5 separate regions of the Homo sapiens genome follow, and regions 1, 2, 3 and 5 are each linked to region 4. Evidence: promoter capture Hi-C in 16 types of primary human blood cells and fetal thymus (Javierre and others, 2016). All regions are on one chromosome and are shown on one strand. Each heading gives the region's core, a stretch centred on a gene start or on the middle of the fragment in contact. The rest is flanking DNA. Distances are from core to core; before and after follow the strand shown.

What was found. Contacts are between HindIII fragments. The CHiCAGO score rates a contact against its expected background, and 5 or more counts as called.
Region 1: a fragment that was not itself captured here is called in contact with the fragment with the promoter of SETD1A in region 4 in 2 of 17 cell types (naive B cells and total B cells); the score reaches 5.4 in naive B cells.
Region 2: a fragment that was not itself captured here is called in contact with the fragment with the promoter of SETD1A in region 4 in 2 of 17 cell types (monocytes and total CD8 T cells); the score reaches 11.2 in monocytes.
Region 3: the fragment with the promoter of ITGAD here is called in contact with the fragment with the promoter of SETD1A in region 4 in 1 of 17 cell types (neutrophils); the score reaches 5.4 in neutrophils.
Region 5: a contact is called between a fragment that was not itself captured here and the fragment with the promoter of SETD1A in region 4, in 1 of 17 cell types (monocytes). The highest score is 5.2, in monocytes.

What each region holds. Positions count from the first base shown.
Region 1 is chr16:31,330,389-31,335,207 of GRCh38, forward strand. It overlaps ITGAM (integrin subunit alpha M), which reads left to right. Exons shown (of 30, transcript NM_000632.4): 27 at 1-33; 28 at 116-217; 29 at 777-887; 30 at 1,248-2,489. The coding sequence ends at 1,319. Among named protein-coding and RNA genes, the nearest start is that of ITGAX, 22 kb to the right of the region's middle. RefSeq lists a silencer at 1,090-1,169. The HindIII fragment of the contact is 184 bases long and covers 2,057-2,240 here.
Region 2 is chr16:31,373,139-31,378,020 of GRCh38, forward strand. ITGAX (integrin subunit alpha X) reads left to right here. Exons shown (of 30, transcript NM_000887.5): 20 at 111-252; 21 at 3,661-3,777; 22 at 3,862-3,941; 23 at 4,044-4,127. Among named protein-coding and RNA genes, the nearest start is that of ITGAD, 18 kb to the right of the region's middle. The HindIII fragment of the contact is 1,195 bases long and covers 2,320-3,514 here.
Region 3 is chr16:31,390,412-31,395,478 of GRCh38, forward strand. It overlaps ITGAD (integrin subunit alpha D), which reads left to right and starts at 2,924. Exons shown (of 30, transcript NM_005353.3): 1 at 2,924-2,980; 2 at 3,825-3,930. The coding sequence starts at 2,950. The HindIII fragment of the contact is 1,676 bases long and covers 1,332-3,007 here.
Region 4 is chr16:30,954,407-30,959,610 of GRCh38, forward strand. It overlaps SETD1A (SET domain containing 1A, histone lysine methyltransferase), which reads left to right and starts at 3,348. Exons shown (of 19, transcript NM_014712.3): 1 at 3,348-3,558; 2 at 4,311-4,475; 3 at 4,685-4,780. The coding sequence starts at 4,326. ORAI3 (ORAI calcium release-activated calcium modulator 3) reads left to right here. Exons shown (of 2, transcript NM_152288.3): 2 at 1-532. RefSeq lists enhancers at 2,656-3,419, 2,877-3,006 and silencers at 3,607-3,826, 3,967-4,056. The HindIII fragment of the contact is 14,721 bases long and covers 1-5,204 here.
Region 5 is chr16:31,293,834-31,298,813 of GRCh38, forward strand. ITGAM (integrin subunit alpha M) reads left to right here. Exons shown (of 30, transcript NM_000632.4): 13 at 3,681-3,821; 14 at 3,912-4,121. Among named protein-coding and RNA genes, the nearest start is that of ITGAM, 36 kb to the left of the region's middle. The HindIII fragment of the contact is 613 bases long and covers 982-1,594 here.

The sequences.
Region 1 (4,819 bases), core at 899-3,398, 370 kb after region 4:
AAAGGCAACCTCTCGTTTGACTGGTACATCAAGGTGTGTGGGGTCCTGAGGCTTCGCCGGGCACAGGCGTGGTGCTCAGGGCCCAGGTGCAGTGCCCACCCGCTCTCTTCCACAGACCTCGCATAACCACCTCCTGATCGTGAGCACAGCTGAGATCTTGTTTAACGATTCCGTGTTCACCCTGCTGCCGGGACAGGGGGCGTTTGTGAGGTCCCAGGTACCTGTCTTGGGCGCTGAGGAACTATTGGAGGGAGAGGGGCTGCGCTTGTGGAGATTTCTGGGGGAGGAGAGAGAGACACAAAGAGAGAGGGAGAGAGAGAGACAGAGCGACAGAGAGACAGAGAGATACAGAGACGTAAGGAGAGAGACAGACAGAGACAGAGAGATAGAGGCAGAGGGAGAAACAGACACAGAGACAGACAAAGGAGAGAGAGATAGAGAGTCAGAGAGATAGAGATAGAGACAGAGACAGTGAGAGATGGAGATAGACAGAGAGATAGAGATAAAGAGAGAGATACAGAGCGCGACAGAGACAGAGACAGTGAGCCATGGAGATAGAGAGACAGAGAGAGGCAGAAAGCGATAGAGAGAGATAGAGGACAGAGAAACGGAGGAGGGAGAGGAGGGAGAAGAGGTGGGGGAGGAGGACTGAGGGCTGGGGTTCTGGGGGACATGAGGAGGGGTTCCCCACTTGATTCAGGGGTGCACACGGTGTGAATGGGGAACCCCCAGAAATCCAGAGTCGTCTCCCCTGACGCCCCTCCTTCCTCCCCCAGACGGAGACCAAAGTGGAGCCGTTCGAGGTCCCCAACCCCCTGCCGCTCATCGTGGGCAGCTCTGTCGGGGGACTGCTGCTCCTGGCCCTCATCACCGCCGCGCTGTACAAGGTGCTCCCCGCTGCTCCCCCACCCCCTCCCTTCATCCTCTCGGGCCTCGCGCTGCAGCTCCGTGCCTCGGTTTCCCCGGCGGGGCTGCCAGCTGTGTGACTGGGGCGAGTCTGGGAGCCTCTCTGCGCCTCAGTCTCTTAGGGAGGGTGGCCGGGTTCATGCGCGGGGCGCGCTGAGAACGAGTCGCCCTCCTTGTAGTTTCTGTTTTTCTCCAGGCCCCGACGCGGATGTCACTCCCCTCCCGCCCCGCCCTCCTGGGTCCCTTCTGTCTCTGCCGGCCCTCCCGCCCCCTCCCCCTGGTCTGCGGAGCCGCACGCTCCCTGGCTGCTGTCGCTCTCACTGCCCTCCTCTGCCCCGCAGCTCGGCTTCTTCAAGCGGCAATACAAGGACATGATGAGTGAAGGGGGTCCCCCGGGGGCCGAACCCCAGTAGCGGCTCCTTCCCGACAGAGCTGCCTCTCGGTGGCCAGCAGGACTCTGCCCAGACCACACGTAGCCCCCAGGCTGCTGGACACGTCGGACAGCGAAGTATCCCCGACAGGACGGGCTTGGGCTTCCATTTGTGTGTGTGCAAGTGTGTATGTGCGTGTGTGCAAGTGTCTGTGTGCAAGTGTGTGCACATGTGTGCGTGTGCGTGCATGTGCACTTGCACGCCCATGTGTGAGTGTGTGCAAGTATGTGAGTGTGTCCAAGTGTGTGTGCGTGTGTCCATGTGTGTGCAAGTGTGTGCATGTGTGCGAGTGTGTGCATGTGTGTGCTCAGGGGCGTGTGGCTCACGTGTGTGACTCAGATGTCTCTGGCGTGTGGGTAGGTGACGGCAGCGTAGCCTCTCCGGCAGAAGGGAACTGCCTGGGCTCCCTTGTGCGTGGGTGAAGCCGCTGCTGGGTTTTCCTCCGGGAGAGGGGACGGTCAATCCTGTGGGTGAAGACAGAGGGAAACACAGCAGCTTCTCTCCACTGAAAGAAGTGGGACTTCCCGTCGCCTGCGAGCCTGCGGCCTGCTGGAGCCTGCGCAGCTTGGATGGAGACTCCATGAGAAGCCGTGGGTGGAACCAGGAACCTCCTCCACACCAGCGCTGATGCCCAATAAAGATGCCCACTGAGGAATGATGAAGCTTCCTTTCTGGATTCATTTATTATTTCAATGTGACTTTAATTTTTTGGATGGATAAGCTTGTCTATGGTACAAAAATCACAAGGCATTCAAGTGTACAGTGAAAAGTCTCCCTTTCCAGATATTCAAGTCACCTCCTTAAAGGTAGTCAAGATTGTGTTTTGAGGTTTCCTTCAGACAGATTCCAGGCGATGTGCAAGTGTATGCACGTGTGCACACACACCACACATACACACACACAAGCTTTTTTACACAAATGGTAGCATACTTTATATTGGTCTGTATCTTGCTTTTTTTCACCAATATTTCTCAGACATCGGTTCATATTAAGACATAAATTACTTTTTCATTCTTTTATACCGCTGCATAGTATTCCATTGTGTGAGTGTACCATAATGTATTTAACCAGTCTTCTTTTGATATACTATTTTCATTCTCTTGTTATTGCATCAATGCTGAGTTAATAAATCAAATATATGTCATTTTTGCATATATGTAAGGATAATTTATAGGATATGTTCCTGGAAGTTTGGGTTCTCCCAGAAGCAAACCCAAGAATTTGGGTGAAACAAGCGTATTTAAGAGGTGGCAGGCCAGGCATGGTGGCTCACACCTGAAATCCCAGCATTTTGGGAGGTGAAGGTGTGAAGATTGCTTGAGCTCAGGAGTTCGAGACTAGCCTGGGCAACATAGTGAGAACCTGTGTCCACGAAAAATTAAAAAAATTTAGCCAGGCCTGGTGTTACATGCCTGTAGTCACAGCTACTCCGGAGGCTGATGCAGGAGGATTACTTGAGCCCAGAAGGTCTAGACTGCAGTGAGCCATGATCGCACCACTGCACTCCAGCCTGGGTGACAGAGTGAGATCCTGTCTCAAAAATAAACAAAATAATAAAATAAAGGTCGGGCACAGTGGCTCACGCCTCTGTAATCCCAGAACTTTGGGAGGCCGAGGCTGGTGGATCACCTGATCTCAGGAGTTTGAGACCAGCCTGTCGAACTTGGTGAAACCCCGTCTCTACTAAAAATACAAAAAAATTAGCCATGCATGGTGGCAGGCAACTGTAATCTCAGCTACTTGGGAGGCTGAGGAAGGAGAATTGCTTTAACCTGGGAGGTAGAGGTTGCAGTGAGATATGATTGCATCACTGCACTCCAGCCTGGGCGACAGAGCAGGACTCCATCTTAAAAAAAAAAAAATAAATAAAATAAAATAAAATAAAGAGATGGCTCCAGGAAATACCGAGGAAGGGAAGGCTGCCAATAACAGGTGTATCACCCACAGAGAAGCTGCTGTGAGTTCCTGGAGCTTCACCCCACTGGGCAGTTCTCGGAGGCAGTGCAGAACACGCACCTCAGTATCACCCCACCCAGGGGAGAAGGCTGGAGCGCATAGACACCGATTCCACTTAGCTATTGGATGAGGGCTGCTCTTGGTGGGGAGAGTGTGTTAATTTCCTACCACTTCTGGCCTGCCCTGAGTGTGAGGAGAGTGGGCTCTAGTGGCCAGAGAAAGTGATACCAGTGCTGCTGGCTGGATGTTTGACAGGTGAACACAGCCCCTGACACGGTGCCTTTGGTTCAGGTCAGGGCACCAGGAGCACTTGCTGCCAAGGTGTGTGCAGGTGACATTTTGGTGGCTGCTTCCTCAGAGGGAGGATGCCCAGTGCCTGTCCCTCATACTTTGCAAACACAGTAAACACTAGCCTGGCCTGAACATACATCCTCTCTAATCCTCACACCAGTCCTTGGTATTTACATGAATTTCACTTATGAGGAAACCTAGGCTTAGATAGATCATACCAGTTGCCTGAGGTCATACAGCTGGGAAGGAATGGAGCTAGGAGTTAATCCCAGCTCTGCCTAGGTCTAAAGCTTTTCTCTTTTACTGTCCTGACAGCCTCAGAGGAATGGCCCCAGAACAGGCATGAGGGAGTGTGGGGAGAGGGTGGCTGTTATTTAACTGTTATGATATTGGGTTAAAGCATATGAAATTGATGACATGTTTTTGGACAAAAATGTTTCTTTCTTTTCTTTCTTTCTTTCTCTTTCTCTCTTTTCTTTCTCTCTCTCTTTCTTTCTCCTTCTTTCTTTCTTTCTCCTTCTTTCTTTCTTTCCCTTCCTTCCTTCCTTCCTTTCCTTCCTTCCTTCCTTCCTTCCTTCCTTCCTCCTTCCTTCCTTCCTTCCTTCCTCCTTCCTTCCTTCCTTCCTTCCTTTCTTTTTTCTTTCTTTCTTTCCTTCCTTCCTTCCTTCCTTCCTTCCTTCCTTCCTTCCTTCCTTCCTTCTTTCTTTCTTTCTTTCTTTCTTTCTTTCTTTCTTTCTTTCTTTCTTTCTTTCTTTCTTTCTTTCTTTCTTTCTTTCTTTTTTTTCATGGAGTCTTGTTCTGTCGCCCAGACTGGAGTACAGTAGTGTGATCTCAGCTCACTACAACCTCTCCCTCCCGGGTTCAAGTGATTATCTTGCCTCAGCCTCCTGAGTAGCTGGGATTACAGGCGTGCACCACAATGTCTGGCTAATTTTTTTTTTTTGTATTTTTGGTAGAGATGGGGTTCCACCATGTTGGCCAGGCTGGTCTTGAACTCCTGACCTCAGGTGATCCATCTGCCTTGGCCTCCCGAAATGCTGGGATTACAGGTGTGAGTCACTGTGCCCAGCCAAAAAATGGTAATTTCATGATCTTCATTGAAATACAAGAAAATCATGGCTTAGAGGGACACTTGTTTCACATGTGGCAGGAGGAGAGAGGGCTTACTCCTTAGGGAGGTGAAGGAAGGGTCCCCAAGGGAGGTGACACCTGACTGAAGCAGGGCCAGAAGATCT
Region 2 (4,882 bases), core at 1,667-4,166, 420 kb after region 4:
GGGTCCGTCCCCTGTCTATCTCCCAAATCCCCACCCACCCCATTTTATCCCAGACCATTTCTAGCCTCAGTCACAGAATCATCTTCTCCTTTCCTTCACCTGATACCCAGCTTGAAGTCCCTGCTGGTGGGGAGTAACCTGGAGCTGAACGCAGAAGTGATGGTGTGGAATGACGGGGAAGACTCCTACGGAACCACCATCACCTTCTCCCACCCCGCAGGACTGTCCTACCGCTACGTGGCAGAGGGCCAGGTGCACCCTCTGGGGAAGGAGGAGGAGGCAGGGCTGGGCGTTAGCGTAGATTCCCGTGCGGTTCAGAACCCGGGCTGGGCTTGGAGGTGGTAGTGCCATCTGGGGCACGCCTCTGCTCGTGTGGGTGTTCAACTTTGGGCATCGCAGTTTAAGGACACTGACTATCAGGAATGATTTCCTGAGAGGCCACTAATGTGGAGACAGAGGGGAACCTGCCCAAATTTCTTTCTATTCCATATTATATCAGTATTCCTCTTTTAAATGAAAACATACCTCAGCCTTCAAATATTTTAAAACACTGTTCTGTAGAAGCAAGGGGTTGAATTTATTGGTCACTCTACATTAAGGCTTGGCGACCTTTTTCTATAAAGGGCTAGATAGTAAATATTTCAGCTTCGTGGTCTGCGTGGTCTGTGTCACAGCTGCTAACCTCTGGTGTTGTGGAATGAAAGCAGCCATTGACATGAATGAGTTTATGAGTGAATATACCTGCGATGCAGTAAAACTTTATAAAAATAGGTAGTGGCTGTTGGTTGCCAATCCCTGCTTTAAAATGCAGAACTAGGACCACGGGGAGTCAAAGAGAACCAGATTTTTTAAACAAAGATGTTATTATGGCTGGGAGTGGTGGCTCACGCCTGTAATCCCAGGACTTCGGGAGGTTGAGGCAGGCGGATCACCGGAGGTCAGGAGTTTGAGACCAGCCTGGCCAACATGGTGAAACCCCATCTCTACGAAAAATACAAAAATTAGCTGGGTGTGGTGGCAGGTGCCTGTGATCCCAGCTACTGGGGAGGCCGAGGTGAGAGAACTGCTTGAACCCGGAAGACGGAGGTTGCAGTGAGCTGAGATTGTGCCACTGCACTCCAGCCTGCACAACAGAGCAAGACTCTGTCTAAAAAAAAAAAGTTATTATGAAAAATTTAAAACATTTACAAAAGTAGAAAGTAGTTCAACAAACCTCCCCAAAACTTGTCACCTAGATTCAACAATTAGCAGCATTTTGCCACATTTGTTTCATCAATTTTTCCCCTTTGCTAAGGTATTTTCTTTATTTCTTTATTTTTGAGACAGGGTTTTGCTCTGTCACACAGGCTGGAGTGCAGTGGCACAATTTCAGCTTACTGTAGCCTTGACCTCCTGGGCTCAAGCGATCCTCCCATCTCAGCCTCCTGAGTAGCTAGAACCACATGCACACACCACCACACCTGGCTAATTTTTTAATTTTTTTTGTAGAGTTGGGGTCTTACCATGCTGCCCAAACTGGTCTCTAACCCCTGGGTTCAAGCAGTCCTCCTATCTTAGCTTCCCAAAGTGTTGGAGTTACAGACATGAGCCACTGTGCCTGACCTGCTAAAGTATTTTAAAACAAATCTCAGACATGGGGGTCATTGTACTCCTCCTTATTCACTCTGCTATGGTTTGAATGCATCACCCAATGTTCGTGTGTTGGACACTTAATCCCCAATGCAACAGTGTTGAAAGGTGAAACCTTTTAAAGGTGATTAGGTTATGAGGGCTTTGCCCTCATGAATGGATGAATACTATTATCTCAAGAGTAGATTAGTTATTTCAGGAGTGGGTTTCCTTCCTTCCTTTCTTCTTTCTTTTTCTTTCTTTCTTTTCCTTCTTTCTTTCTTTCCTTGAGAGGGTCTTGCTCTGTTGCCCAGGCTAGGGTGCAGTGGCACGATCTTGGCTCACTGCAGCCTCTGCCTCCCGAATTCAAGCAATTCTTGTGCCTCAGCCTCCTGAGTAGCTGGGATTACAGGTGCCCACTGCCACGCCCAGCTAAGTTTTGCATTTTTAGTAGAGATGGGGTTTCACCATGTTGGGCAGTCTGGTCTTGAACTCCTGACCTCAAATGATCCACCCGATTCGGCCTCCCAAAGTACTAGGATTACAGGCGTAAGCCACGGAGCCTAGCCCAGGAGTGGGTTTCTAATTAAAGGATGAGTTTGGCCCCCTTTCCCTCTCACTCTCACATGCACTGCCTTGCACATGCAGCACAAAGGCCCTCACCAGATGCTGGTGCCATGTTCTTGGACTTCCCAGCCTCCAGAACCACAAAGCTTCTATTGATACATTACCTAGTTTGCGGTAATCTGTTATAGCAGCAGGGAACAGACAAAGACACACTCTATAGTTCTGAACAATGAGGACCTCTTATATGACCTCAACACCATTATCACACCCAATGAAATAAGTGATTCCTTGGTATTAAGATCATAGTCAAAATTGTGTAACTGTCTCAAAAATATCTTTTTACTTCTGGTCTATTTGAACGAAAATTCGAACTAGGTCCATACATGATGGTTGGTTGTTATTTCTGCTGTCTCTCTTAGTCTAATATTCCCAGCGGAAGCGCATTTTGATTAACGTATAAAAGAACACAGCAGGAAAGGCCATCTCTTGCATGTGAGGGGTGATCACTGTCAATGAAAGTGCTCCTAGACATATCAACCAAATGTAATGGGTGGACCTTTGCTGAATATTGATTTTAACAAATGAGCTGTAAAATAACATTTTTGGAGACAATCTAAGAAAATAGAACATGACCAGTATATTGGTATATTAAGGAGTAATTGTTAATTTTGTTGGCTGTGATTTGTTGGTTCTTGTGGTTACATTTAAAATACCCTTATCTATTGGTGGTATACACTGAAGTATTTCTAGATGAAACAATATGGTGTTTGGAATGTGCTTTAAAGTGTTCAGAAAGAGAACATAGCAGAAACAAGAGTAGAAAAATGTTGGTTACTTAAAATGAGTGATGGTTATATGGGGTTGATTTTCCAGTCTCTCTATTTTTTAATGTGTTTTAAATTTTCCATTATAAGAGGCCTTTAAAATAACAATAAAAAGGTGAACATTTTAATACATTTGAGATTTCTACTTTGGAAGAAAGTTTGACCAGATAGCTATGGGGGAGCTTTTAAAAACGTAACCTTGGCTGGACATGGTGGCTCATACCTGTAATCCTAGTGTTTTGGGGGGACAAGATGGGAGGATTGCTTGAGGCCAGGAGTTCAAGACCAGCCTGGGCAATATAGCGAGGTCCCATTTATAAAAAAATTTTTTTAAAATTAGCCAGGCATGGTGGTGGTGTGTGCCTGTAGTCCTAGCTACTCAGGAGGCTGAGGCAAGAGGATGGCTTGAGGCCAGAGTTTGAGGCTGCAGTGAGCTGTGATTGCATCACTGCTTTCTAGCCTGGGTGACAGAGTGAGACCTGGTCTCAAAAAACAAACAAACAAACAAAAACATAAGCTTAAGGTGGGCTCCAGGAAGCTTTATCACTACTTCGTGGCGTGTCTTTGGAATGCTGTTATATTAGGTTGGTGCAAAAGTAATTGGGTTTTTGCCATTGCTTTCAATTTCAACTAATACTCCTCTACTTTTTCTCATGCCTAGAAACAAGGGCAGCTGCGTTCCCTGCACCTGACATGTGACAGCGCCCCAGTTGGGAGCCAGGGCACCTGGAGCACCAGCTGCAGAATCAACCACCTCATCTTCCGTGGCGGCGCCCAGGTCAGCCTGGCTTCTGTCCCCTCACTGCTCCCCTGCCCCACCCTGTCTTTACTGCTCTGTGACCTCTCAGTTCCTTTTCCTCAGATCACCTTCTTGGCTACCTTTGACGTCTCCCCCAAGGCTGTCCTGGGAGACCGGCTGCTTCTGACAGCCAATGTGAGCAGGTGAGCCGGGCCAGGCCAGGGGCAGTGCCCCTCATCTCCAGCCTCACACCCCATTCTCCTCCTCTGGGGCCTCTGGCAACTGAGTCTCTCCTCTTTCTCCAGTGAGAACAACACTCCCAGGACCAGCAAGACCACCTTCCAGCTGGAGCTCCCGGTGAAGTATGCTGTCTACACTGTGGTTAGCAGGTCAGCAGGTACCCCACTGCAGGAAAAAGGGTTCTTCTCTCTGACCTCAAAAAGAAAAAAAAAAAAAGGCCTTGAAACGCTGCCACAGAGGGTGAGATAAGGTGTTTGAAACTAAAAGGTCAGGTGTTTCAGCAGACACCTTCCTTCAGCCAATGCCTTCCTCGAATTTGCTGTGTGCCAGGCAGGGTGCTGTGGTTATTTTCCATACATTCATTTGACATTCATTGAAGATTTACTGAGCCCCCATTATGTGTGATCAAAACCAGACATGAACCCTCGCCCTTGTGGGGTGTGCCTTGCTGGATGTTCTCCTGTGCCTGGTGTTTCCCACTCTCACCTGCACCTGCATGCGTGGAGGCTCCCAGCCAGGTGCACGCTCTGAGCTCGTGTGCTGGGGTGTGCCCCAGGCTCTCATACCCCTTGGCAGGGGACCCACAGGCAGGGCTCACCTACTCTAGGCATGTGTGGTCCACAGCTTGGCCACACATGGCAGGTGTGATCCACAGCTTGGCCACACATGGCAGGTGTGACTCTGTGGGTTAGGGCACAGGGAGTGCCAGGTTGGGGCATTTCTGGGGGAGGCCAAGGTGGGAGGATTGCTTGAGGCCAGGAGTTCAGGATCAGCCTGGGCAATATAGTGAGACCCTAGCTCTACAAAAAATTGGCAGAGGAGGAATGAGGCTTCAGAGTAGGCGTGGTGGGCTGGTGTTTGGACTATGCCAGCTGGAGGACAGGTGCCGGAAGAGTGAAGCAGT
Region 3 (5,067 bases), core at 1,674-4,173, 440 kb after region 4:
TGTAATCCCAGCTACTCGGGAGGCTCAGACAGGAGAATCACTTGAACCTGGGAGGCAGAGGTTGCAATGAGCTGAGATTGCACCACTGCACTCCAGCCTGGGCGACAGAGCAGGACTCCATCTCAAAATAAAAATTAATTGATTAATTAATTAAAAATTTACTGAGAGCTGGTGGTTCCTTTAAGGGTGGAGCCGCCATCAAGTCCCCAGAGGATGCCCTGAATTTGGGGGCATCACCTTCAGCTGCTGTGGACTCTGAGCCTTGGCAGCTCCAGCTCCAGGCCTGGGAGAAAGATGATTTCCTGGCAGCGTGCAGTGATTGTGAGCATTTGACTACCTTACTGCATTTTGCCCTTATCATTGCTCTCCAAACATGAGTGGAAAACAAAAAATTTTGCTGAGACAAGCGATAATACGAGTTAGGGAAAGTTGGAGAATTTTATAGTTGCTGATATCAGCAAATCGTGAGTTTCAAGCACTACTTACAGAAGGAAGTCCAAAATTAAAGGGGATATAGAAATGTGTAAAAGATGAGGTGTGGTGAAGATGGAGAAAATGAAGAGCTCTTTAAATTTCTGAATTATGAAGAATCACCAACAAATTATTTTGTGGTTCCAAATACAGGGAGAAGTTCACAGATCCACAGAACTGATGACAGGGTGCGGCCAGCCACAAACCTTTCAGCACAAGAGGGAGAAGGCTGCCGCTCCACTTTGCCTGGGCAGTCTTTGTAAGGCAGTAGATAAGTCAGCCTCGAAGTTAGCAATCACAGCCCTCGGCTCGGTTTCCTGCAAGGGCATCGTTAATGCATCACAATTAATTTCTTCTGTCCATTAAATGTCAGCTCTCAAGTAAATTGATGTAAAATTTTTGTATAGAAAACTATTTCATATTATTTGCACTTGATGTTTAATTACATTTTAAATGTTTTGTTTGTTTCATTTTGTTTTGTTTTTGAGACAGAGTCTTGCTCTGTTGCCCACGCTGGAATGCAGTGGTGTGATCTTGACTCACTGCAACCTCTGCCTCCTGGGTTTAAGCGATTCTCCTGCCTCAGCTTCCTGAGTAGCTGGGATTACAGGCGTGCACCACCATGCCTGGCTAATCTTTGTATTTTTAGTAGAGATGGGGTTTCACCATGTTGGCCAGGCTGGTCCCGAACTCCTGACCTCAAGCTATACACCTGCCTCAGCCTCCCAAAGTGCTGGAATTACAGACATAAGCCACTGTGCCCAGCCAAATGTTTTAAATAATTGTCACATATATATACAAAATAATTTATGTTATAGGTAGGGATCTTGTTATATTTTAACCTTCAAAGTATATTCCTAAGCTTTTTATTTATTTTTTATTTTTTATTTATTGAGACAGTCTTGCTCTGTCGCCCAGGCTGGAGTGCAGTGGCGCAATCTTGACTCACTGCAAACTCTACCTCCTGGGTTCAAGCGATTCTCCTGCCTCAGCCTCCTGAGTAGCTGGGATTACAGGTGCGCACCACCATGCCCAGCTAATTTTTGTATTTTTAGTAGAGACGGGGTTTCACCATATTGGCCAGAGCTGGTCTCAAACTCCTGACCTCAGGTGATCCATCCACCTCAGCCTCTCAAAGTGCTGGGATTATAGGTGTGAGCCACTGCGCCTGGCCTATTCCTAGCCTTTTATATATAGACCTTTTTCTTTTTCACATTTTAAAGGAACTTTTATGTTTAATCATGGAATATTTCAAACATACAGAAAAATCACAGAAAATAAATAACAACCACTCATTTATCTTCTCCCCAACCCCATGTAATAAATATTAAAATATTGTGTTAAATGCTAAATTTAACACATGCTAAAGGTTCCTGGCTGGATGTGGTGGCTCACGCCTGTAATCCCAGTACTTTGGGAGGAGGAGGTGGGAGGATTGCTTGAGTCCAGGAGCTCGAGACCAGCATGGGCAACATAGTGCGATCTCGTCTCTACAAAAAACAAAAAAATTAGCTGGGCATGGTGGTGTGCATCAGTAATCCCAGTGACTGGGAGGCTGAGGTGGGAGAATTGCTTGAGTCTGGGAATTTGAGGCTGCAGTGAGCCCTGATCATGCCACTGCATTCCAGCATGGGCGACATAGCAAAACTTGTCAAAAAAAAAAAAAGTTTCCTCTCTGCCCCACCATAGACAACCACTCTTCTGATTTCTATCTTCGTAGATGAATTTTGCCCATTCTCTTGTATATGAAAGGAACCAGACATTAGGCATTCTGGTGTCTGGTTTCTTTCACTTAAGATAAAATTGAGTTAACCTGTATTGTTGTACAGAACTGCAGTTTGTTCTTTGTTATTTATTGTAAAGACAGGGTCTGGCTATGTTGCCTAGGCTGGTCTCGAACTGTTGGCCTCAAGCAATCCACCTGCCAAGCTCTGGGACCACAGGCATGAGCCATGGCATCTGATCTGTAGTTTGATCTTATTTCTTGCTGAGTAGTAGCCCATGGCATGACTTTATTATTTTGGGTGTCCATTCTCCTCTGGAGGGGCTCTGCTTTTTGAAACCACACCCTGGCCTAGCTCCCCTTCTCCCTGCCTCTCTGCCGGCTCACATCCACATGCCAAGACCTCTGCAGCCATTCTGCTTCCTGTCCTTCCACTCCTGTGGGACCTCAGAGAGCTACGGGGCTCCCTGGGTACCAACTGGCTCCTGAGGCCTGGGGGAGGGTGGTCTTCTGGGAGAAGGAAGCCAGGTCCCTGCAGGTTGTGGAGGGGGACAGAATGAGGGTTTTTCCCCAGGGTGTTGTTGGCCCCTGCCCCCACTTCTGTTCCATAATTAACCACGCCCCTCCTACCCACTGTGCCCCTCTTCCTGCTGTGTGGAGGCCCTGAATCATTATTTTAACTACCCCCTGGGAGGGTGAGCACCTTCTGTGCTCTGTCCCCAACCTTCCACTTCCCCTCAACGCGCTGCTCAGGGATGACCTTCGGCACTGTGCTTCTTCTGAGTGGTAAGTGGGGCCAGGGTGCTGGGGAGAAGCTTGGAGGAGTTCTGAGGGGACTCCATCTGGGAGGGCAGGCTGGGGGCTGGTGGTCGGCTCCAACCACTCTTATGAGGAGCTGAGGCAGGGGAGTGCTTCATGTGCGAGTGGCCCGGAGTCAGTAGAGTGTGACCTGAATGAAGAGGGGCTCAGGGGCTGTGCTCAGGTGGCGACTAAGCTACCTCTCCAGCTGGCTATGTTGTCCCAGGCTTCCCTGCTCCCACTCATGGAGTCCCTGGTGTGGGTGACAGAGGTCTCCCCAGCCTCCCCCGGGAGTGGAAGGCCACAGAAGCCACCAGGGAGGGGGAAAGGTTGGACATCACCTCCCTGGGCCTGTTTCCCCCAAGTCCTGACTGCACGTAGGGAAGAGGCCCCCTGCTGAAAACTGCATCAGAGTCACATTCACGTGCCATCAAAAATCAGGCTTGGCTGGGTGCGGTGGCTCATGCTTATAATCCCAGCACTTTGGGAGGCCGAGATGGGCGTATCCCCTGAGGTCAGGAGTTTGTGACCAGCCTGGCCAACATGGTGAAACCCCATCTTTACCAAAAATATAAAAATTAGCCGGGCATGGTGGCGTGCACTTGTAATCCCAGCTACTTGGGAAGCTGAGGCAAGAGAATCGCTTGAACCCAGGAGACGGAAGTTGCAGTGAGCTGAGATCGTGCCGTTGCACTCCAGCCTCAGCAACAGAGCGAGACTCCATCTCAAAAAAAAAAAAAAAAAAAAGAAAAAAAAGAAAAAGAGGCTGGGAGGTCCTAGGGATTGGGGCTTCTTTAACTCCCAGCCTCCCCGCCCACCAAATATTCCTCAGTCCTGGCTTCTTATCATGGATTCAACCTGGATGTGGAGGAGCCTACGATCTTCCAGGAGGATGCAGGCGGCTTTGGGCAGAGCGTGGTGCAGTTCGGTGGATCTCGGTAGGCCCCACTCACCCTCCTTCCCCAACCTCCACTACATCAAGTCCTGTGGATGGGTACACGTGGGTTACCCCAGGGAGGTGTCCTGGAGGAAGGCCAGCAGGGGTGAGAAGTCTTCCCTTGGCTCCTTGGAGGCCCTGACATCAGCACCTATTATTCTCAATCCCAGGAAAGGCCACAAAACTCTAGACAAGACCCTACCTTACCTCGGGAGGGAAGCCTTGAACCTGCCTCCCAGGCAGGGCCCACTTCTTGGGGCCAGTATGGTCACACAGGGCCCACACTCATTAACTTTGGAGTTTAATGTTCTGCCCTTGACCTCTTGAAATTCCTGATTATTTTTATTTTTATTTTTACTCCAGCTCTGTTACCCAGGCTGGAGTGCAGTGGTGCAATCACAGCTTACTGCAGCCTCAAACTCTCGGGCACAAGTGATCCTCTCACCTCAGCCTCCTGAATAGCTGGGACCACAGGTGCATGCCATCATGCCTGTTTTTTGTTTTGTTTTGTTTTACTTTTTACAGAGATGGAGTCTTGCTATGTTGTCCAGACTGGCTGAACTCCTGGGCTCAAGCAATCCTCCTGCCTTGGCCTCCCAAAGTGCTGGGATTACAGGTGTGAGCCACCCTGTCTTGCCAATTCTTAAAAATTTTATCTGTGCATTTGTGTTTTGCAAGTAAAGAATGATGGCAGGGCTGGGCACCATGGCTCACGCCTATAATCCCAACGCTTTGGGAGGCTGAGGCGGGCAGATCATCTGAGGCCAGGAGTTTGAGACCAGTTTGGCCAACACAGCAAAACCCCATCTCTACTAAAAATGCAAAAAAAATTAGCCGGGCATGGTGGCAGGCATCTGTAATCCCAGCTACTTGGGAGGCTGAGGCAGGAGAATCGCTTGAACCTGGGAGGTGGAGGTTGCAGTGAGCCGAGATCGTGCCACTTTACTCCAGCCTAGGTGACAGAGTGAGACTCCGTCAAAAAAAAAAAGTCATGGGAGAAGGGAGATGCACTGGGGGTTTGGAGCCTTAGCTCAGCAGCAGCCCCACCTCCCACCGCCTCCTGAAGGGTGGTGAAGGGGTATCAGCTGCTGGCTCCCCCACCCATGTGGGAGCAATGACCGCTGCTACCTTCCGCCCC
Region 4 (5,204 bases), core at 2,098-4,597:
GGGGTTTCGCTGTTCCCAGGCTGGTCTCAAACTCCTGGGCTCAAGTGAACCTCCCGCCTCGGCCTCCCAAAGTGCTGGGATTCCTTTCTTTATTTCTGTAGAATCTATTTTATGGTTGGCATTTTGGGGGAAGATTTCGATGGGTTCCACATTCTTGCTTTAGTTGTTGTAGAGGGATTTGGGTGTTTCTACCCAAGGCATTGGTCTAGCTTTTCCTACAATGAACCTATCTTTGGAGGTTCAAGCTCCCCACCTTCCCCCACTGTGGTGACCTGTGGCCACTTGCAGAAGGGATGGTGCCTGACCCACTGCCCTAGCCCCACGCTATGCACCAAACTTGTTCTCCCCGTCCTGGTCCAGGGCTGGGGTCTTTAGAGACTGACAGCCTCTGCCCCAGGCCTGAGTCCTTAGCAAGGGTTGGGTAAGGAGGTTTTAAGGGAGAAGGTCCAGTCCTTAGCCCTTGAAATACAAAGCTCTTCTGACACTGAATTTGGATGCACCTTGTTTTATATAATAAATCGTGTTTCACAGATGTCCCTGTTGCTGTGAAGGGGATGCAGGGCAGGCCTTCTTAGGATAACTTTACTTGTTCCCAAGAGCCGGGTGGTGGCAAGTTTGGGTGGACAGGACCTGGGAGGGGAGTGGGTTTCAGGTGTAACCCTGTCAGATGCTAACAAGGGCCAACAGCTTCTGAATGGGGAGAGTTATTCCAAGGCTACAGGCTTTGAACTCTTGTCCCTGAGTTCAGAGTCTCTATCTCTTCCACTGAGTATTTATTTATTTAGAGACGGAGTCTTGTGTTGCCCAGGCTGGAGTGCAGTGGTGCGATCTCAGCTCACTGTAACCTCCGTCTCCCAAGTTCAAGCAATTCTCCTGCCTCAGCCACCAGAGTAGCTGGGATTACAAGTGTGTGCCGCCACACCCGGCTAATTTTTATATTTTTATTAGAGACGGGGTTTCGCCATGTTGGCCAAGCTGGTCTCAAACTTCTGACCTCAGGTGATCCACCTGTCTGGCCTCCCGAAGTGCTGGGATTACAGGCATGAGCCACCACACCCAGCCCTCCCTGAGTGTTTAGTATAAGCACTCTTTTTTTTTTTTTTTTTTTGAGACCGAGTCTCGCTCTGTCTTGCACTGTCGCCCAGGCTGGAGTACAGTGGCATGATCTCGGCTCACTGCAAGCGCCGCCTCCTGGGTTCACGCCATTCTCCTGCCTCAGCCTCCCAAGTAGCTGGGATTACAGGTGCCCACCACCACGCTCGGCTAATTTTGTTTTTGTATTTTTAGTAGAGATGGGGTTTCACCGTGTTAGCCAGGATGGTCTTGATCTCCTGACCTAGTGATCCCCCTGCCTTGGCCTCCCAAAGTGCTGGGATTACAGGTGTGAGCCATCGCGCCCAGCCGAGACAGTCTCACTCTTTTGCCCAGGCTGGAGTGCAGCTGTGCAATCTTGGCTCACTGCAGCTTTGACCTCCCAGGCTCATGAGCCTCCCACCTCAGCCTCCCAAATAGCTGGCACCACAGGACGTCCCACCAACCCAGCTAATTAATTTTTTTTTTTTTTTGTAGAGAGGAGGGTCTCACTATGTTGTCCAGGCTGGTCTTGAACTCCTGGGCTCAAGTGATCCTCCCACCTTGGCCTCCCAAAGTGCTGAGATTACAAGTGTTAGCCACTGCACCTGGCCTCAAGTTTCTTTCTTGAGCAACTACCACATACTAGGGGACTTTCATAGGTTATCTTATTTAACTCTCACAACACCTTAAGCGTTAAGTCTTTATCATTTTCATTTCAGAGATAAGGAAACAGGCCCAAGAAGGCTGAAGATCTTGCCCAAAACCACACAGCTAGTCCATGAAACTGAACTTGGACTATCTACCCCTCACACGGGAATCTCTCTTTGATTTGAGAAAAGGAACCAGTGCCTTTCAACTGGAACAGAAAGGAATCTGATCTCAACACCTATGCCTCCACGTAAATTATTTTTTTCAGCCTTATTTCCCTCAAAATTGTAGAGTCCTAATCTTCTTCTATCTTGTGGTGTGAGACCTTGGATAAGTCTCCCTTCCACCTTTTCCTATTACTTAAAATGGTGAATTTGCATAAACCAGGCTCTAAGGGTCTTTTCTGCACTGTTCGGATGTGTACAAATTGACATCCAAGTTTAAAGGAAGACTCTGAAACTTAGGTCAATGACTTGCCCAAGGCCATATAGCGAGGGCCTGATGTACACATATCAGGAGCTTGGGGCATCCTCAGCTCAGGAAAAGGGACCTCCTGGGAGTGCCTGCGCCCACACGGGATCAAAACGGTGCCCAGCCTTCAGAAACCTCAGCCCGAGTTCCAGGGGTAGGCCTGGGCCGCTGCTGCCCTTGTGCGGAGGCATCCCGTGAGCATAGGGCGCCATAGCCAAAGAAGCGGGCAGTGGGACCATGACGCCAGGAGGACACACCAGTCCAGTCCCGTTCCTGTAGGACCTCGTTTATTATTACAAGGCCCATTTAAGGGCACTTAGGCCCCACTAGGCTCATCAGAAAACCTTGAGGCGGTCCCTGGATTTAACCACTAATGGTGGGTTTGAGTACGGCAAAGTAGGGCACCTTCTACAGGCCTCACTCTCCCCATCTGGCAAATGGGCATCCTAAGCAGCCAGACACCCAAGGGCAATAACGGGAAGGAAAGGTACCCTGCATTTATGTGCGAGGCGGGGCAAACCGCCTGAGTCACCGCTCACGGTTGTGTTTTTCCACCTCCCGGCCGTCCCTCCCATCCGGGTGAGTCCTCGTGGGTCCTCCCGGAGGCGCCCCCTAGTCCCAGGCTCTGCACGCCCTGGCCCCGCCCCTTGACTCGGCCCCGCCCACAGCGGAATCCGCAGATTCGCCAGGTCGGATCCTCAGAATTCCTCGGGTCCCTCGATACTCGGCTGAAAATTCTCATCGGACTCTGAGAGGAGCGCTGGGCTGGAGGCATTTTCCCCAGGGACAGAAGCGGGCTATTCTCTCACTTGGGCCAGTAAGAAAAATCCAAAAAAAGTTGTCGACTCTGCCAGCAGGGATTGGCTAACGGGCCGTTATTTTCTTGACTCCACCAAGGCGGATGAAGGGGAGGCTACGGCTGAGGCCGGGAACAGTGGCGAATCTGCAGCCTCTCAGAATTTGGCAGTGCAAGGAAGGGACGGGGAAGAGAAGCAAAGCGGCGCGCATCCTGTCCAGCGATTCGCCCCGCCCGCCCGGTGAATCTGCGTCTGCAGAACGCGCCACTGAAGGTTCCCCAGCGCTGGCTGGCCTCCTCCCCTCCGCCCCGCCCCTTTTCCTCAGGGACTAGTCGCAGCTTTCGTCGCCGCCGATTCGTCAAGGTCCCGGGCCGCAGCATCTAGATCGTCGTGGCGAAGCCGACTCTCCGGGGGATGCGGCCAATCTCCAAGCTCCCTGGGCCGCAACTTCCGAGCCTCCCAGGGCGCCGGCCGAGGCGAAGCCGCTACCCTCGGCCCCGTGGGTCCCCCGGCAGCGCCTGTGGCGAAAGTGCGAATGCAGACCCTGTGCCCGCTGGGCCTCGCGCAGGTGGCAGTGGTGTTTGGTGCGCGCGCCGGGGAGGTGGTGGTGGGGGGGCGCCGCCGCCGCCACCGCTGCGGGGCCGGGTCTCGCGCTGCCGCTGCCGCCGCCTCGCGCCGCTGAGGTGCCGCGCGAGGTGGGGGGAGGGGGAGCCGCTCGCCGGGAGCGGGTGAGTGGGGCCGCGCGGCGCGCGTGCGCGGAGACCTGCTGGGGGGGGTGCAGAACGCGCCGGGGCGGGAGGAGAGGGCAGCGGTGCACGTTCCCCCCACCCCCCCGCCCGGATTCGGGGTCGAAGCCGGGTCTCGGGCTCGGTCTCGCGGTGTTTCCAACGCCCCGAAGAGGTGCCACCTTTCGGCCGGAGGATCGGGGCGCGGGGAGGAGAGCGGGTGTGTGGGAGCCGTGGCCGGGCTCGGCCCGGGCCGCTGGCCGGTGAGGAGGCGGGAGGGGGCGGGGCCTGCAGGGGGCGGGGGAGGGGTCTTGCTCCGAGGCCAAGTGGGGCGCGCGCTAGGGAGAGCGGGAAGGTAAGGGGGCTCGAGACGGGCCTGGGGGCCTGACAGTAGAGTTGGGAGGTGGAAAGAGGCTGGGTTGTTGTGGCGAAACAGAGGGTACTTGGGGGAGAATCCGGGGGAGCCCCGGGTCAGGGTGAGGGTTGGAAACTGGAGTGATGGGAGAACCTGGAATCGGGGCTAGCCAATGAGGAAAGGCAGGGGAGTCAGGCCCCAAGTCCTGATCCTTCTTGCGTGTCCCTCTTCCCCTAACAGTGTAAATGAGCAAAGATGGATCAGGAAGGTGGGGGAGATGGGCAGAAGGCCCCGAGCTTCCAGTGGCGGAACTACAAGCTCATCGTGGATCCTGCCTTGGACCCTGCCCTGCGCAGGCCTTCTCAGAAGGTGTACCGCTATGATGGAGTCCACTTCAGTGTCAACGTGAGTGCCCGGGTCTTTGGTTGCCATCCGGGGAGCTCCAGGCGCCCGTCCTCTGTGATTCTGTTCAGCACCTAGAACGGTAGCCTGCCTTCTTGAAAGTGGGCAGTTGGACCCAGCTCTTCTGCATGTGTGTGTCCAGATGGGCTGCTTGGAGCTCCCTAGCCTGGATTCACCCTGAGCTCTCTTTCTGCTGCTGCTTTCCTTCCTAGGACTCAAAGTATATACCAGTCGAAGACCTCCAAGACCCCCGTTGCCATGTCAGGTCCAAAAACAGAGACTTTTCCCTCCCAGTCCCTAAGTTTAAGGTAAGTGTCTGCTGGGCTCCTGGTGTGGTAGTCCTAAGAGGGTGTGGAGGATGCGTCTTGGCACTATAGCTGAATAAAAGGGTTTCCAATGAAAGGATCTCAGCCAGATCTAGCAACCTCTGAGGCTGTGAGACTCAGTTGTTTTGGATAGGAGGTACACTTAATCTTCCAGAAAGGTGCAGGTCAGGTGTCCTAAGTGTATCCCTGGTGGCTGGGGTGTCGACTTCTTGAAGGGTGAGGTAAAGACTCTTTAGCTGCTATACCTATCACTGTATATTCGTAGACAGTGCATCATAGCACACAAGAGTGGGATCTCCCAGTTCCTTGACAGTCAAGGGGAGTGACAAGGCCACTGCCTACCTGGGTAGCACTATTCCCCGCCTCTCATTTGGCGATGTCATTTCCCTCTTGTTTCCTTCGAGGA
Region 5 (4,980 bases), core at 38-2,537, 340 kb after region 4:
CCATTTTAATGATATTGATTCTTCCTATCCATGAGCATGAGATGTTTTACCATTTTTTTGGTGTCATCTCTGATTTCTTTGAACAGTGTTTTACAATTCTCACTGTACAGATCTTTCAACTCTCTGGTTAGCTGTATTCCTAGTTATTTTATTCTTTTTGTGGCAATCGTGAATAGGATTGCCTTCCTGATTTGGCTCCCAGCTCTTGTTGGTGTATAGGAGTGCTAGTGATTTTTGTACATTGATTTCGTATCCTGAAACTTTGTTGAAGTTATTTATCAGCTGAAGGAGCTCCTAGGCCAAGACTATGGGGTTTTCTAAATATAGAATCATGTTGTCTGCAAACAGGGATAGTTTGACTTTTTTACTTCCTTTCTTCCTATTTGTATGCCCTTTTTTCTTTCTTTTGCCTGATTGCTCTGGCTAGAACTTCCAATAATATGTTGAATAGGACTAGTGAGCAAAGGCATCCTTGTTTTGTGCTGGCTTTCAAGGGGAATGCTTTTGCCCATCAAGTATGATGTTGGCTGTGGGTTTGTTGTAGATGGCTCTTATTATTTTGAGGTATGTTCCTTCAATACCTAGTTTATTGAGAATTTTTAACATAAAGGGGTGTTGACTTTTATTAAAGCCTTCTCTTCATCTATTGAGATAATCATGTGGTTTTTGTCTTTAGTTCTGTTTATGTGATGAATCATATTTATTGATTTGCATATGTTGAACCAACTTTGCACCCCGGGAATGAAGCCTACCTGATCATGGTGGATTAGATTTTTGATGTGCTGCTGGATTTGGTTTGCAGGTAGTGTGTTGAGGATTTTTGCATTAGTGTTCATCAAGAATATTGGCCTGAAATTTTCTTTTTTTGTTAAGCTGACACTTTTTAGTTTGATGCCACCCCATTTGTCTGGTTTGCTTTTGTTGCCTGTGCTTTTGGGGTCATATCCAAAAAATCATTTCTCAGAAGCTTGATTGTCAAGAAGCTTTTCCCTTTGTTTTCTTCTAGTAGTTTTACAGTTTCAGGTCTTGTGTTTAAGTCTTTAATCCATTTTGAGTTGATTTTGTATATGGTTTGGGATAAAGGTCTAATTTAATCCTTTTGAATATGAATATCCAGTTCTCCCCACACCATTTGTTGAAGAGAATGTCCTTTCTCCTTTGCATATTCTTGGCACCTTTATTGAAGATCAATTGACCATAAATGCATAGTTTTATTTCTAGCCTCCCTGTTCTGTTCCATTGGTTGATGTGTCTGTTTTTATGCCACCACCTTGCTGTTATGCTTACTAGAGCTTTCTTGACACAGTATGTTTTGAGATCAGGAATTATGATGCCTCCAGTATTTTTTTTCTTGAGGATTGCTTTGGCTATTTAGGGTCTTCTGTGGTTCTACATAAATTTTAGTTTTTTTTCTATTTTTGTAAAAAAATGCCATTGGGATTTTGATAAGGATTGTACTGAATCAGAAGATTGCATTAATACTCCAGTCCATGAACATAGGATATCTTTCCATTTATTTTTGTCTTGTTTAACTTCCTTAATCAATGTTTTATAGTTTTAGTGTACATGTTTTTCACCTCTCTGGTTAAATTTAAGCTTAGGTATTTTTTTTGATGCTATTGTAAATGAGATTGTTTCTTGATTTCTTTTTCAGATAGTTCATTGTTAGTGTATAGAAGCACTATTGATTTTTCACATTGATTTTGTAACCTGTAACTTTACTGAATTTATTCATTAGTTCTAGTAGTTCTTTTTTGGTGGAGTTTTTAGGGTTTTTTAAAAATATATTTATATATATATGTTTTTATATATATATCATTTTAAGTGTAAACAGAGACAAATTTCCTTTTTTATATCTGATTTGGGTCTCTTTCATTTATTTTTCTTGCCTAATTGCTGTGACCAGGACTTCCAGTACTATGTTACATAGAAGTAGTGAGAGTGAGCATTCTTGCCTTTTTCCTCATTTTAGTGGTAAAGCTTTCAATTTTTCACCATTGAGTATGATGTTTGTTGTGGGCTTGTCGTATATGGCCTTTATCATATTGAGGTACATTCCTTCTGTAGCGAATTTATTGAGAGTTTTTATTATAAAAGAATGTTGAATTTTGTCAAATGCTTTTTTTTGCGTATATTGAGATGATCATGTGGTTTTAGTCCTTCATTCTGTTAATGTGATATGCCACATTAATTGATTTGCATATGTGGAATCATCCTTGCATCTCGCATCCCAGGGATAAATCACACTTGATCATGGTTATTATCTTTTTATCTTTTTTTTTTTTTTTTTTAACAGAGTCTCTCTGTGTTGCCCAGGCTGGAGTGCAGTGGCGTTATCTCGGCTCACTGCAAGCTCCACCTCCCAGGTTCACGCCATTCTCCTGCCTCAGCCTCTTGAGTAGCTGGGACTATAGGCGCCCGCCACCATGCCCTGCTAATTTTTTTTTTTTTGTATTTTTAGTAGAGATGGGGTTTCACCATGATTTCCAGGTTGGTCTCGAACTCCTGACCTCAGGTGATCCACACGCCCTGGCCTCCCAAAATGCTGGGATTACAGGCATGAGCCACTGCATCTGGCCGGTTATATGACTTTATATGTTTGTCAAAACTCATAAAACTATGTACTAAAAGGCTGAATTTTATTGTATGTAAACTCTTCCCCAATAAATCTGACCTAAAAAACAATCAAATTCTGTTGACTTTAGGATAAAGTATTCAGTTATCAATGAGTCTTCCCTCAATGGTGTATGAGGCAGAAATCACGTTGCAGAGCCGTGGCATGATGTCCCCTGCACATTCCCTTTCTAGAACTTGTCCCAGTTTGAAATTGCTATACACATCTCCCTGTTAATCCATTGATTACTCTCCTCTCCTCCACCTGGCTGCACTGAGGGCCCTGGAAGGCACTGTATCTCTATTACCCAGCTGTGTGCTTAGCAATAAGAAACACTTGTTTGTTGAATGAATGAATAAATGAATGAATGAATGTATGATTAAATAGGTGAATTTTATGGATGAATTCTACATATTGACCTTGAAGATATTTCTTAATATCACAACAAATATTCAAATAACAAATAGTTATTTTTAATCTAAGCCAGTTATTAGCCTTATTAGTCAGAGTGCCAACTTTGACTTTTTACCTCCCTAAAGATTCCCAATATATTGAAAGGGTGGTATTCTGTCTTCTCTTCTAGAATTTTCTATGTATTTTCCAACCCAAATTCTTCTTTGCTGCCTTAATAATCTCCCAGGAATACCACCTGGAGTAAATCCTCACTCACTGCCCATTGACTCTACTATAGGCTTATTTTTTATCTTTTAAATTATTAAAAAATATATATATACACTTAGAGATTGGGATCTTGCTCTGTTGCCCAAGCTGGAGTGCAGTGGTGACAAAGCTCACTGCAGCCTTAAACTCCTTGGCTCAAGGGATCCTCCCACTTCAGCCCCCCGAGGAGCTGGGATTACAGGCAGAAACCATTCTGCCAGGCTTATTATATAGGTTCCTTTAGCTGGCAGCACATTCAAGTGATAATTTATCATGAACCATATAGAAGATCACATCTGCTCCAGAGGGATTCCCCCAGCAGGCATAACTTTTCTTCAGAGAGAGAAAACCTCCACATCTGCTTTAGGTGGGAAGAGGTGTGTGATTACGGTCCTGTCTCTTTCAGATCGGCGCCTACTTCGGGGCCTCCCTCTGCTCCGTGGACGTGGACAGCAACGGCAGCACCGACCTGGTCCTCATCGGGGCCCCCCATTACTACGAGCAGACCCGAGGGGGCCAGGTGTCCGTGTGCCCCTTGCCCAGGGGGGTGAGTGGCAATGGGACCTGGGCTGGGTGGGGCCCGGTGTGGGTGGAGGGGTCGCCTGGGTTGGGGCCTGATACTGTTTGTGTTTAGCAGAGGGCTCGGTGGCAGTGTGATGCTGTTCTCTACGGGGAGCAGGGCCAACCCTGGGGCCGCTTTGGGGCAGCCCTAACAGTGCTGGGGGACGTAAATGGGGACAAGCTGACGGACGTGGCCATTGGGGCCCCAGGAGAGGAGGACAACCGGGGTGCTGTTTACCTGTTTCACGGAACCTCAGGATCTGGCATCAGCCCCTCCCATAGCCAGGTGAGACCTGGTCACTGTCCTTGTCATGACAGTAGCCTCTTTGTTGATCTTTCTCCTAATTCAGTGTGCCCACAGCTGCCAGATAAGTTCTCACAGTACTCCTTTCAGAACCTTCAAAAATAATAACATGTGGCTGGGCCTGGTGGCTGACGCCTGTAATCCCAGCACTTTGGAAGGCTGAGTTGGGAGGATTGTTTAAGCCCAGGAGCTCAAGACCAGTCAGGGCAACATGGTGAGAACCCATCTCTCCAAAAAAAAAAAAAAAAAAAAAAAATTAGCCAGGTGTGGTGGCATACACCCATGGTCCCAGCTACTCTGGAGGCTGAGGCCGGAGGATTACTTGAGCCTGGGAGGTTGAGGCTGCAGTGAGTCCTGGTCACACCACTGTACTCCAGCAGCCAGAGTGACAGAGTCAGACTTGCACATGCATGCGTGCACGTGCACACACACACACACATTCACAGAAATCTCAAAGACTCTTAGTTCCAGATTGATTATTTCTACAGCAATAGGAGGTGCATGATAGCCTCATCACCCCCACTTTACAGATGAGTAGATCAAGGCCCAGCGATGGCAAATGGCAAGCTAGCAGTATTGGGATGCAGGCATTCCTTTCTTCTGAATCTCGGTCCTGGTAAGGTGACCAAGAGCTCTAGTTTGCTTAACTCTGTCCCAGATTTAGTACTGAAATCCCACATCCTGGGAAACCTATGCGGTTGGCCACCTTACGGGATTGCACACTTCACAGATGTGGAATTGTGCAGTCACACGTGCCCCTCTCTCAGAATCGCCCTGTGCTTGGCTTAATGCTCTGCTATTGCCATCTTCAATTCTTAGTAATTTTTCAACAAGGGGTCCT